Linked DNA regions of Homo sapiens: all the other regions are linked to region 1. Evidence: promoter capture Hi-C in 16 types of primary human blood cells and fetal thymus (Javierre and others, 2016). All regions are on one chromosome and are shown on one strand. Each heading gives the region's core, a stretch centred on a gene start or on the middle of the fragment in contact. The rest is flanking DNA. Distances are from core to core; before and after follow the strand shown. Region 1 holds the start of PCDHA7 (protocadherin alpha 7). Region 2 holds the start of PCDHGA4 (protocadherin gamma subfamily A, 4). Region 3 holds the start of PCDHGB6 (protocadherin gamma subfamily B, 6). Region 4 overlaps PCDHGA1 (protocadherin gamma subfamily A, 1).

The links. The method cuts DNA at HindIII sites, captures the fragments that hold promoters and counts their contacts. A CHiCAGO score of 5 or more calls a contact.
Region 2: a fragment that was not itself captured here is called in contact with the fragment with the promoter of PCDHA7 in region 1 in 4 of 17 cell types (M1 macrophages, fetal thymus, erythroblasts and 1 more); the score reaches 10.7 in M1 macrophages.
Region 3: the fragment with the promoter of PCDHGB6 here is called in contact with the fragment with the promoter of PCDHA7 in region 1 in 3 of 17 cell types (erythroblasts, fetal thymus and M1 macrophages); the score reaches 6.6 in erythroblasts.
Region 4: a fragment that was not itself captured here is called in contact with the fragment with the promoter of PCDHA7 in region 1 in 1 of 17 cell types (fetal thymus); the score reaches 5.3 in fetal thymus.

Annotation. Positions count from the first base shown.
Region 1 is chr5:140,832,923-140,835,736 of GRCh38, reverse strand. It overlaps PCDHA7 (protocadherin alpha 7), which reads right to left and starts at 1,468. Exons shown (of 4, transcript NM_018910.3): 1 at 1-1,468. The coding sequence starts at 1,353. All of the region lies in intron 1 of PCDHA1 (protocadherin alpha 1), which reads right to left. All of the region lies in intron 1 of PCDHA2 (protocadherin alpha 2), which reads right to left. The region is part of intron 1 of PCDHA3 (protocadherin alpha 3); the gene reads right to left. It also overlaps PCDHA4, PCDHA5, PCDHA6 and PCDHA@. RefSeq lists an enhancer at 1-175. The HindIII fragment of the contact is 15,813 bases long and covers 1-2,814 here.
Region 2 is chr5:141,353,214-141,355,913 of GRCh38, reverse strand. All of the region lies in intron 1 of PCDHGA1 (protocadherin gamma subfamily A, 1), which reads right to left. All of the region lies in intron 1 of PCDHGA2 (protocadherin gamma subfamily A, 2), which reads right to left. All of the region lies in intron 1 of PCDHGA3 (protocadherin gamma subfamily A, 3), which reads right to left. All of the region lies in intron 1 of PCDHGB1 (protocadherin gamma subfamily B, 1), which reads right to left. It also overlaps PCDHGA4 and PCDHG@. The HindIII fragment of the contact is 1,117 bases long and covers 843-1,959 here.
Region 3 is chr5:141,406,728-141,409,521 of GRCh38, reverse strand. It overlaps PCDHGB6 (protocadherin gamma subfamily B, 6), which reads right to left and starts at 1,501. Exons shown (of 4, transcript NM_018926.3): 1 at 1-1,501. The coding sequence starts at 1,319. All of the region lies in intron 1 of PCDHGA1 (protocadherin gamma subfamily A, 1), which reads right to left. The region is part of intron 1 of PCDHGA2 (protocadherin gamma subfamily A, 2); the gene reads right to left. All of the region lies in intron 1 of PCDHGA3 (protocadherin gamma subfamily A, 3), which reads right to left. It also overlaps PCDHGB1, PCDHGA4, PCDHGB2, PCDHGA5, PCDHGB3 and PCDHGA6, and 6 more genes. RefSeq lists an enhancer at 1,043-1,092. The HindIII fragment of the contact is 5,535 bases long and covers 1-2,523 here.
Region 4 is chr5:141,423,256-141,425,955 of GRCh38, reverse strand. The region is part of intron 1 of PCDHGA1 (protocadherin gamma subfamily A, 1); the gene reads right to left. The region is part of intron 1 of PCDHGA2 (protocadherin gamma subfamily A, 2); the gene reads right to left. All of the region lies in intron 1 of PCDHGA3 (protocadherin gamma subfamily A, 3), which reads right to left. The region is part of intron 1 of PCDHGB1 (protocadherin gamma subfamily B, 1); the gene reads right to left. It also overlaps PCDHGA4, PCDHGB2, PCDHGA5, PCDHGB3, PCDHGA6 and PCDHGA7, and 9 more genes. Among named protein-coding and RNA genes, the nearest start is that of PCDHGA11, 3.6 kb to the right of the region's middle. The HindIII fragment of the contact is 609 bases long and covers 1,146-1,754 here.

The DNA.
Region 1 (2,814 bases), core at 219-2,718:
GTTGTCGTTCACGTCGGCCACCTCCACGGACACGCTAGCAGTGGCCCACAGAGAAGGCGAGCCCCCGTCCCGCGCGGTAACCACCAGCTCATAGGCGGACACACTCTCGCGGTCCAGAGCGCTGTCCAGCACCAATGAATAGTAATTCTTGAAGGTGGACACCAACTTGAAGGGAACGCGGGGCGTCAGGGAGCAGGTAACCTGTCCGTTGACTCCAAAATCTCGGTCAAACACGCTAATCAATGTGATGACGGTACCTGGTTGGGCGTCCTCTGGAATAGGGAGAGACAGGGAAGTGAGAGTCAACTGTGGAGCATTGTCATTTACATCCACAACTTCCACAAGAACTGTACAATGACCAGCCAGGGGTGGGAAGCCTTTATCGACAGCCTCGACTGGGATCTTGTGTGCTCTACTTTCTTCAAAATCCATATGTCCTATCACTGTGATTGCCCCACTTAAGGGGTCCATGTGGAACTTGGATTTTATATCTGGAGAAACATCACTGGAGAAGGAGTAAATAATATCCCCATTCAAGCCTTCGTCTAAATCTGAGGCATTGGGGTGAATCACCAGCGTTCCGATAGAAACGTTTTCTGGTAATTTCACCGTATACAGGGTTCTGTCGAACACTGGGGCATTGTCATTGTTGTCCAGTACCGTGATGAGTAATTGAACGGTGCCAGTCAGCTCGGGTTTGCCTCCATCGGTGGCCGTGAGCAATAAATGAAGCTCCGGAGTTTCTTCTCTGTCTAAAAGTTTCCGTAATACAAGTCCAAGAGGTTTTACCTGCTGGTTGCTGGTTGGCACGTCCAGGAAGAAATACTCATTGGGGCTCAGTCTGTAAGTGAGCAGGGCGTTCTCCCCGATATCTGCATCGGACGCGCCCTCTAGTGGAAACCGAGAGTCAAGCGGCCTGGATTCCGCGATGAACAGATTCCTTTGTGTCGCTGGGAACACCGGAGGGTTGTCGTTAATGTCCTTCACCTCCACGTCCACATGGAAAACCTGCAGCGGCCTTTCCACGATCACCTCCAGGTGGATGCTGCACTCCGCGCTCCGCCCGCACAGCTCCTCGCGGTCGATCCGAGAATTCACAAACAAAATGCCATTCTGCAGATTTACCTCCAGAAGATCCCCACGGAATTTGCACACCGCCCGGAACAGGCGCGGCACCAGCTCCGCCAGCTCCAGCCCCAGGTCCTGCGCGATGCGGCCCACGAAGTTGCCATGTTTAGCCTCCTCGGGGACCGAGTAGTGGAGCTGGCCTCTCCCTGCCTCCCAAGCTGCTAGAATTATAATAAACAGCAGTAGATGTCGGCCCCCTGGGTCGTATCCATTCGGGCACACCATTTCAAATTATTGGCTTGTTTTTCTAGTCAGCAAAACTTGCCTTCGAATTTATAGGAATGTTTTTATCCCTTCATTTCAATCTCGATGTGTGGCCATTGTTGTGCATCCAAAGAGTGAAAGAGAGTGGAGCGTCTTTCCAGTGCGAAAAGGAATGACTTCCTTTTGCTGATTACGAAAGAATTTGCGGTAAAGAGCGACATCATGTGGCCATCATGTAAGTAAGAATTACAAACCATTACAAACTATTAATCAGATGAAAAGTTTTATTTCAAACTCTGAATTTTTTTCTTCATTGTTGTTAAAGGTTAAAATAGCATTTCTCATGATTGTTAGAAGCATTCTTAGGCGACTGATGGCTTTTGAATACTCAGTGTTACCAGAACTGTAGCTTCCTCATGCCTTAGAAAAACTTTTTTTTCACACAGTTTTAAATAAAGATAGAAACCTAAGTGACAACATGAATTTAAACAACTGCAAGTTTAAATTCCTTTGATCTAGATCCCAGGAAACTTCATATTCTTGATTCAGTATCGCTTGTTAAGAAAAATCCTGTACTCTTTTAGGGACCCAGGATCTCAAGAATCTACTGATTGATGAAAGAGAAACTTAGAAAGCGGTGTGTGTGTGTGTGTTTTCTTTTTAGGAGGCAAGAAACATTAGCAACTATCCAGACACTTCTCTTGGGAAAACAAAATAAGAGAAGGTTTGGGGAATCTTTGAAGGGGAAGAATTTGTATCATGTGAACTTTTTGAGGAGGAAGTATTCTGAATTTTTTGCTTTAGCAGAATCTATATATACTGTTTCAGGAGTTCATCATTTTATATTTGTTTCCTCATTCTATCCTTTCGAACACTTGTGTGTTATGAATATATGCCTATTTTTACAATCTCAAATATGATTTGTATTATTTCTTTTAAAATGTAAGTTTATTTTATTAGATAAATTTCAGTGCTCAGCCATCTCACATACAGCAGCCCTTTGATCAAGTCTTGAGGTATTTCATCCTTTTTGGATCTACCTTACTGTGTTCGTTTTCTGGAATGTTTCACTCCAATGTTCCCAATGGCATGTAAAATAATTATGTCTGTATTCAGATGCTTTCCTAAATAAGTTTTTATAATTGCTGCTCTCCTGGTGTATTGCAGTAGCTTCTTATTGTGTAACCTGTCCATTCCTATTTCATTCTCCTTCATTTAATCCTTGCAGTCATCTTCCGTTAATACTTTTTATTCGTATTGCTTCACACTTTTTGACAGCTTTCAAATGACTTTGAAGAGTGTCAAAATTACTCGTCTAGTACTCAAAGTTATACAAAAGGTTTTTCTCATATTACTTTTCTTGCTTTATATCACACTCTCTCTTATGGGAACCATGTGCTTTACCCAAAGTGGACTATTCCTCATTTCTAGGTACATTTGGAATTTTCTGTATACTCACTTAAGTTACTCTCTTCTCATGAA
Region 2 (2,700 bases), core at 152-2,651, 520 kb before region 1:
TTATCGTTGGTATCCACAAGTATTATGAGAATCCTGGCAGTGCCAGAGCGAACCGGGTCACCTCCATCGAAGGCCGTGAGAACGAGGTGGTGAACCGCCTCTTCCTCGCGATCTAGAGCGCGTTCCAGCACCAGCTCTGGGTACTTAATCCCATCGGCCCCACTTTGCACGTCCAGGGAAAAGTAACCGTTTGAGTTGAGCTGGTAACCCTGCAGGGAGTTTACACCTACATCCGGATCAAAAGCTTCAGGAAGAGGAAATCTTGCCCCAGGATTTTCATTTTCAGCAACTTTTATTTCCCTCTGTTCTGTCCCAAAACTGGGTGGGTTATCATTAACATCGATTATTTCCACCTCTACCCGCAAAATCTTCACTGTATCTTCTAGAAGAATCTCCAGGTTTGTCACACAGTTTGGAGATCTGTCGCAGAGCTCCTCCCTGTCTATCCTACCCGCGGTGACCAAGGTGCCGCTGCGCGGGTTCAGGGCGAAAAGCTGCGTCCTACCTCTGGAGACGATGCGGACTCCGCGCTCCGCCAGCTCCCGGGGCGCCAACCCCAGGTCCTTGGCGATGTTGCCCACCACTGAGCCTTCTTCCTGCTCCTCAAACACCGAGTAGAGAATCTGTTCGGCCCTGATTTCCACCAGAACCCCCAGGAGAAGGCAGATCTGGAGCAGCCGGGTGTGGTCTGGGCGAGCAGGAGGCGCCGCCATTACAACCCCGCCGCGGAGTCGCCTGTGCTTCGGTTTTCCCTCTGTCGAGGCCTGAGGAGCCCCAGGATCTTCTGGGTCCAAAATAAAGTGCATTCACAGCCAGAGCTCTCAGGGCTTCCGCTTGAAGCTTTCATAAAGCTCCAGAGCCAGTGCTTTGTGCTGCAGAAATCTTGTGATTCTGATTAAATTTCTGGTTTGTCTTTTCCCCCTGATTGGTGAACAGCGACACCCAGAGTCTTAACCTGTTACTGCAATTTATTCTTGGTTAAAAAAAGTTTATTTTTTATACACTTTTCTATTCCTATTTCTCCCAAGATAATAAAGTCAAATTCCTGTTTTTGATTTGCAATGAAAATTCAAGAATGATCCAAGTCTTCCTGTACAATAAACTTTATGAAGTTATTTATTTTCTTAGAGAAAATATGACGATTTTTTTCCTAAGATGTGTTCTTCCTCTTTTCAGTTTTCACATTGTTCATCCCCACAGCCCATTCTCAGTATAGCGTATTGTGTGAGGGACATAATTATCTCTCCTAAAGACAAAGGTGGACTTGAAAAATGGATGAGACAGATAAGTGAAAAGACAGTGGGACAGGAACTTGGAGGTCTGGCTTTAGTCCCAATTTATGCAGTAACAAGTTTCCTCACAGGAGTTGACCCTCTAGAACCTGGGGCAATGCTTCAATTCCCTTGCAAAAAACTCACCTACTGTTCAAGAGTTAGCCTTACCCTGTACAAATGAGATTGACAAATAGGATAATAGGTTTGGGAAGAGAATTTGCTCCTTAATTTTGTGTACAGTAGATTCTTGGCCACAAGCTATGCATATGACTATCTTGTTCACAATGTGTTCTCAATCTTTAGAACAATACCTTTCATAGAGTAGTAATTTTTATGAAACCTTTCAATGTTTCATGAATGACCAGTTCAAATGCAAAGCCTAAAACAATGGGTAAATAACTCTGATCTTAAAAATAAAAAAGAAATAAAAAGAAAAGTTAGACTGAATAACTATAAAGTGCAGATAATAGTTTAGTGATTTTTTCACATGACACATTCAGTATTATTTTACAATTTCTAACTTTACTTTAGCTCTCATTTTAGAAATAGCCAGTAAAAGGAAATGTTTTGGTAGCCGAACATGGATTATCATTGCATGTGCCATCGCTTTCTTTCTTATGAATACTTACAGTAATTTACTAATCTGTGAAAATTTGAGATAAAGCAGTACATCAGTTCTTAAGCTTATTCCTCACTTAACAATTAGCAGTAGAAATGACTCATACAAAAGGGCATTAGCTATACAGAATTTAAAAACCCTCAGACTTTGAGAGAGTAGATTAAACGTGTTTTTCACAATCCTCAAAGACCGCACAAACTGCGGATGATTGAGAGGTGAAATAAGATGTTTGGAAATAAATTTGACAGTATGCATTAAAAAAATCTCAACATGTTTATAGATTTAACTAATTCCTCAGAAATCTACACTAAAGAAACAAGAAGTATGGAAAACGCTTTATAAACCCAAATGTTCATTACATTCTTTGTTTTAATAGAGACAAAATAGAAAGAGCATAAAAACAAATAATTTAGGAATGGTTAAGAAAATTATGAAATATCATTGACTGAAATTATAGAGTGGGAATAATATTGACTCAAAGTTAGTGATGCAAATATAAAATTGGACAATATTTGCTACTTGTGATGAGACAAAGTGTTAAGAGTCTTAATAATTGGAAGGCTGTATTAAACATACATGTTGCTGCAAAAAGACAAACTAGAATGTAATTGATGAAGATTACATTAATTACATAATTACATTAATACATAATTACATCAATTACATAATTAATGTAATTGATGAACTTTAACTTGGGTGGGAAGAACTCTAAATACATTTATAAAGAGCTAAGAATAAAATGACTTGAAAATATAGTATTGCATATCAACTAAGAAAAGGCACTGCTATTACTAAGTGTTAACATCT
Region 3 (2,794 bases), core at 252-2,751, 570 kb before region 1:
AAGGTGATGCTTCTACTGGAAGAAAGAGGCGGCTTGCCCCTGTCAGTGGCTACGATGGTGACATTGTATTCTGGTGTCTGCTCTCGGTCCAGGGCTCCATCTGTCACCAGTTTGTAGTAGTTATTGGAAGAAGAATAAATCTTGAATGGAATGTCTGTTTCTATATTACACCTGACTTCTCCATTTCCTCCGAAATCCAGATCCCGTGTTTTGAAGAGGGCAACAACCATTCCTGGAGGTGAATTCTCCAAAATCTGATCAGAGAGAGAAGTGATGATTATTTCTGGGCTGTTGTCGTTTTCATCAAGGATTTCTATGATTACTTTACACTGGGTAGAGAGACCACCTCCGTCCTTCGCTTCCACTTCCATGGTGTACCTTTCTACATCTTCAAAATCAAATGACTGGTTATTCTTAATCATACCTGTTTTCTCATCCAATGAGAACATATGTTTTGTGCTCTGGGCAGTGCTTCGGAAGTAGTAGTTTATCTCAGCATTGACCCCCTCATCCTGGTCAGTGGCTGTCACTTGCAACACAGGGGACCCAGGGGGCAGATTTTCACTAAGACTAATTCTATATTCGTCTCTGCTGAAAACCGGGGGGTTATCATTGGTATCCTTGACAGAAATTTCTATGTGAGCGGTGGCACTTCTTGGTGGGTCCCCTCCGTCCAAGGCAGTCAATATCAAGCTATGAGATCTCTGTTCTTCCCGGTCTAGGAGTTTCTCCAGAGATAACTCTGGGTATTTGCCACCATCGGAATTAACTCTAACCATTAATGAAAAATAAGGATTAGAGTTTATCTTATAATCTTTAATTGAGTTTATGTTTATATCAGGATCCGTGGCAGGGTCAAGCGATAGTCGTGTACCAGCGGATGCAGATTCGAAAATTTCTAAATGTATTTCCTTTTTATCAAATTGAGGGGCGTGGTCATTAACATCCTCAATCACCACAATGACATGAAAAATATTTAAAGGATTTTCCACCACAGCTTCCAATTGCAACTCACATCTTCTTCTCTCTTTGCATATTTGCTCACGGTCTATTCGGTTCTTCACAAGTAAGTCCCCGCTCTCCGCGTCTACGCTGAAGTGCAGCTTCTCCGCGCTCACTCGCAGCTTGCGAGCCGACACATCCAGGACACTGAGCCCTAGATCCTTAGCGAGGTTCCCCACCACCGAGCCCTTGGCCAGCTCCTCCGGAATCGAGTAGCGGATCGGCTCACTCAGGGTGGGGTAGAACAAAGGCAGCAGCAAAGGAAATAGCACCTGCCGCGGGCCGGCCCGGCGCCTCTGCGCGCAGCTCCCTCCCATCGTTCGCTCGGGTTCTCGCTGGGTCCCCGCTTTTCCAGTTGGAGAAAGTGCACTCTACCGCGCTAAAAGAGCATTCGGCCCAGGACAGGAGGAGTCCCGGGTCTCGGAGCTGGCAATCCGCTGTGCTGGGAAAGGTCTGCGCAGCCGGGAGGCTCTGTGTGGGAGCTGGTTTTCTTCTTTCTGTTGTTGGCTGCGCAGGGAATCCCAGGCCAGAGGCTGACGGATCCCCGGCGTCAGCGCTTGCTCTGCACTGGCCGACAGCGGCGCCCAGAGGCTCCGTGCGGGACAGCAGCCCGGTTTTTCATTTTGAATTCGGTCTCCGAAATGTATATATTCTTCGAAAATGCAGGTGTACATCCCCCTCAAATTTTGCTCTCACCATAATATTATAGTAGATATTTCTATGCTTTGTGTTTTAAATAAATCTATTATGCACAATTTCAAACTTATACAACAGTAGGGAGTATATATAGTGAACCTTCACATAGCCATCACCCCACCTTCAACAATGATCACCACAAAGCCAATCTTTGTTTAATATATACTGCGCTCCCCCATTATTTTTAAGTAATACGAGATATAGAATGTCAACCAATGCTTCTTTTTAAGATGAGACATTAAGGTCAAGAATTTTATCTTTCAGCTTATGTTCTACAATCTGTTACCAATGCACAATAAGTTAAGTCCTACATAGCCTAAGAAAAACAGAAATAAAGATTTTCCATACTCCATTCAGTCATCTGTCTGGTGAGCCTCGTGTTCTGGTTTTAAGGGCAAGAGACATTTTTGTGGTATCGAATAGTAACTACCTACCATGACATACAAGCCTTCATGGATATCTGTTATGTTTTCCCCAAATTAACATACATTTCAATATTTATAAATACTAAGTATGAAGGCTACTCCTCAGAACAGAAATTGTAACAATTTTCTTGTTGCATGGTTAAAAATATGAGCCTGAAGTATGCTTTATTTTTTTTGCTACCCACTTAAGGGGGAAAACGTGTTTGAAATAATTAAAATGTCTGTATGTCATAAAGGATTCCCAGACACTTCAGCTTTTTTTTCTTAAAAATAAAGCAACTGAAACCCAAATAATTACAAACAAATAAAACAATTCTTCATTTCCACAGAAATGCCAGCAGTCATCAGTGTATCTATGGATCACATGTTTAGCATAGAATTTTGAGTCAACTTCAAAGCTTATTTTCAAATGTCTTGTGAAATGTTATTTACTATTTGAAACAACACTATGTTTAAAATAACATTAAATAATACATTATTCTCTTCCTTATAGCTAAAAACAGTAAAATAGTTTTAGAATCTTCCCAGCAGTTCCTGAGAATATTTTCTTAAATTATATCTGATATGCAAGTTCATTTCTAGACTCAAAAGTTGGAGAATTGAGCCAGAAATAATATATAAGTGAGAGAAATATTTTTAATTCCTTGTTTTGTCATTTCACAGTGTCCAGT
Region 4 (2,700 bases), core at 201-2,700, 590 kb before region 1:
ACTAATGTATAGGAAACTAGACATTTTATGAGTTTTCGTAGTGACTGTTTTCCAGTGTTTACTACCAAAGAAGATTCCTTAGAGATGGGAATCTATAGAACAGTCATTAACCCAGCAAAGAGAATTTAAAAGTTTGTTTTTTTCTAAGCAGAAGCAATGCACATATTGGAAGAACTAGGCAAAGTCTTCTCTCCTGTTGTAGAACAAAAACCTTGTGGGAAAACATCCCCATCAAGTGGTATGGGAAAATTTTGACCACTATGAAATGATATGCAGTATTATTTTCAATCTGATGTGCAGATAATTTTCCTCCTAGTTTTATCAGAGAAAACTGGAGGAGCACTGAAAGCTATATAGGGCATATTCAGAATAAAGTTAGCCAAACCCTTCTTATCACTTATAAAAGAGGTTTCTGAAAAGGATTATTGTTTCATGTTTCATCATAAAGAGAATATAAAGGTATAGCCTAGTAGGTTGCCATAGGAATTAATAACATGAAATGTGATGGTGTTTTATTTTTATCCTCTATTTAATGGGACTATATGTTATACCTTAACAGAACTTTATCACTACCTCCGAATCAACATAACCCTCTTAATATCACATTTCAAAGCCAACCCTTCCTTTTTGTTCTCCACGATCTTGGGAAGTTAGTTTAGATGAGGTTTTATAATATGGAACAATCTCCTTTTCCCAGCCAAATACCTCATATCCTTTTTATTTAACTAATTCCAGTCAAAGTACAATGCCTTACATCATTTTTCTCAGTTTGGAATTCCACAAGTATAAATCCTATCCCTAGATGCTCAAAATACCTGAACATTTTTCTTGACTTCAAGAAAAATGTAGGCATCTGTTGGAAGACTTGCCTTTCCTACAGTTGAAATTATTTTTGTCCGAGCCCTAGATAGTCAGTTTACAACTAATGACATAAGGTAAATTCCTAAATGAGAAAACTAAACTTGAAAGGGAACATAAATATCCAAGTAATTTGGGGCAAATACCTAGAAGTGATGTGAGAGTGTTGACTGAATTGATTATGGAAATGATTCCTGTGATCAAAAACCCTAGATAAGTCTCCTTTCCTCATTTGGCTTTCCTAGACATTGCTTCAGATAACATGTATGTCAGGCAACTATCAAGCTTCAATAACAAGTTGGTCTGAATAAAAGAACTGAATGTACTATTTGCCATAAGAATGACCTTATAAAGAAAGAAAGAAGGAATCTATGACTCCCAACTACACTGAAAATGAACAAAAAAATAGCCAGAAGGATACTAGCTAAATCAGTTTAATTAAAGTCCAAATACCTTCAATCTATTTATATATTCACAAACTACTCTATTTGAATAAATCTGTAGACATCTTTAGCACATTTGAAAATAGGTTTTTGAGAAGCACTGAATCAAAATCAAGTTATTTCTATATATGGATTTACTACATTAAAAAACCTTCCATACATACAAACACAGACACCAAAGTAAAAGAATAAAAGGAAATAATACCAGTTCAATAATTCAATTATTTCCTCAGAACAGTCAATGTAACTTCACCATAGTAATGGAAAAGACATCTAGAGCTTAAGAAAAAATGTGATCTAAATTTTATCTCCCAAGGAAATCCAGTAGTTAAAAGCCAGTCAATATGTCTGTGTTGATAGGATGAAGAAATGAGACAAAGTTGAAATAGTCAACAGGATCTAAGCATATTACCAGCCACCAAGAATCAAAATAAAATTGCTCAGAGAAAAGCTTACGTGTATAAGTGTGTGTGCATGTGTATAGATAGATAGATGAGAAGGAGAGCTAGAGGGAGCATGCTATTAAATCAACAGGATCAAAATTTGAACATTAGCAGTAATAGCAAATAATGGTGGAATATAACTACAAATCAGTGAAGGCACAGCAAAATTGAAATGGAAATAAAAAGTGTTTGTGAATCATTAATTTGTATCTATATATAATAAATTGAGAGCCTCATACACTGATAATAGAAAAATAATACTAAAATTCAACTTACTTCAAACCAAACCAGCATAGTTGAATGGCCCCTTTGAAATCAAAAGAAAATATGCCAAGATTGAAAAATGACTTTCACAAAAACGTTCTGAAAGATTATCGTAATCTCATGAAAGGCAAAGTAAAACTCACATGTATTGCTCTAAATATATATGAACTAAATATATGCCGCCCCACCCCCCCCCCAAACAGTTTTCATAACAGGCTCAAAAAACATCTCCTTAAAAGACTTGTGCCAAGACACCAACAATTAGGAGGCAGAGAAATAAATCTCACCTGATTACTTGTCGGGTCACATTTGCCTAAAATGATAGCTGAGTCTTCAGCTATCAAGAGTGGCTCGCTTTTCTCACAGCTCTCCTGGCTGATGAGCGTGTCCCCATAGTTGGGCTGGGGGAAAATCAGGTGACTCTTCTGCGAGTCCGCAATGAGAGAGACCTCGTGGGAATAGGTTTGCAGGAAAGCCTGTACCCCGTCCACGCCTACAAAATGTGACGTGGGCATACCTGCCAACCCGCCTTCAGAAGCCTGCAGCAGGCGTGACTTATGCCAGCGCCACAGCCTGAGTGCCAGCAGCACGATGACAAAGACCAGGAAGATGCAGGAGACTGCGGCCACCGCCACCACCAAGTACAGCGAGAGGTCTGAGGTTTCAGAGTTAGCCAGAGACTCGAGGCTGCC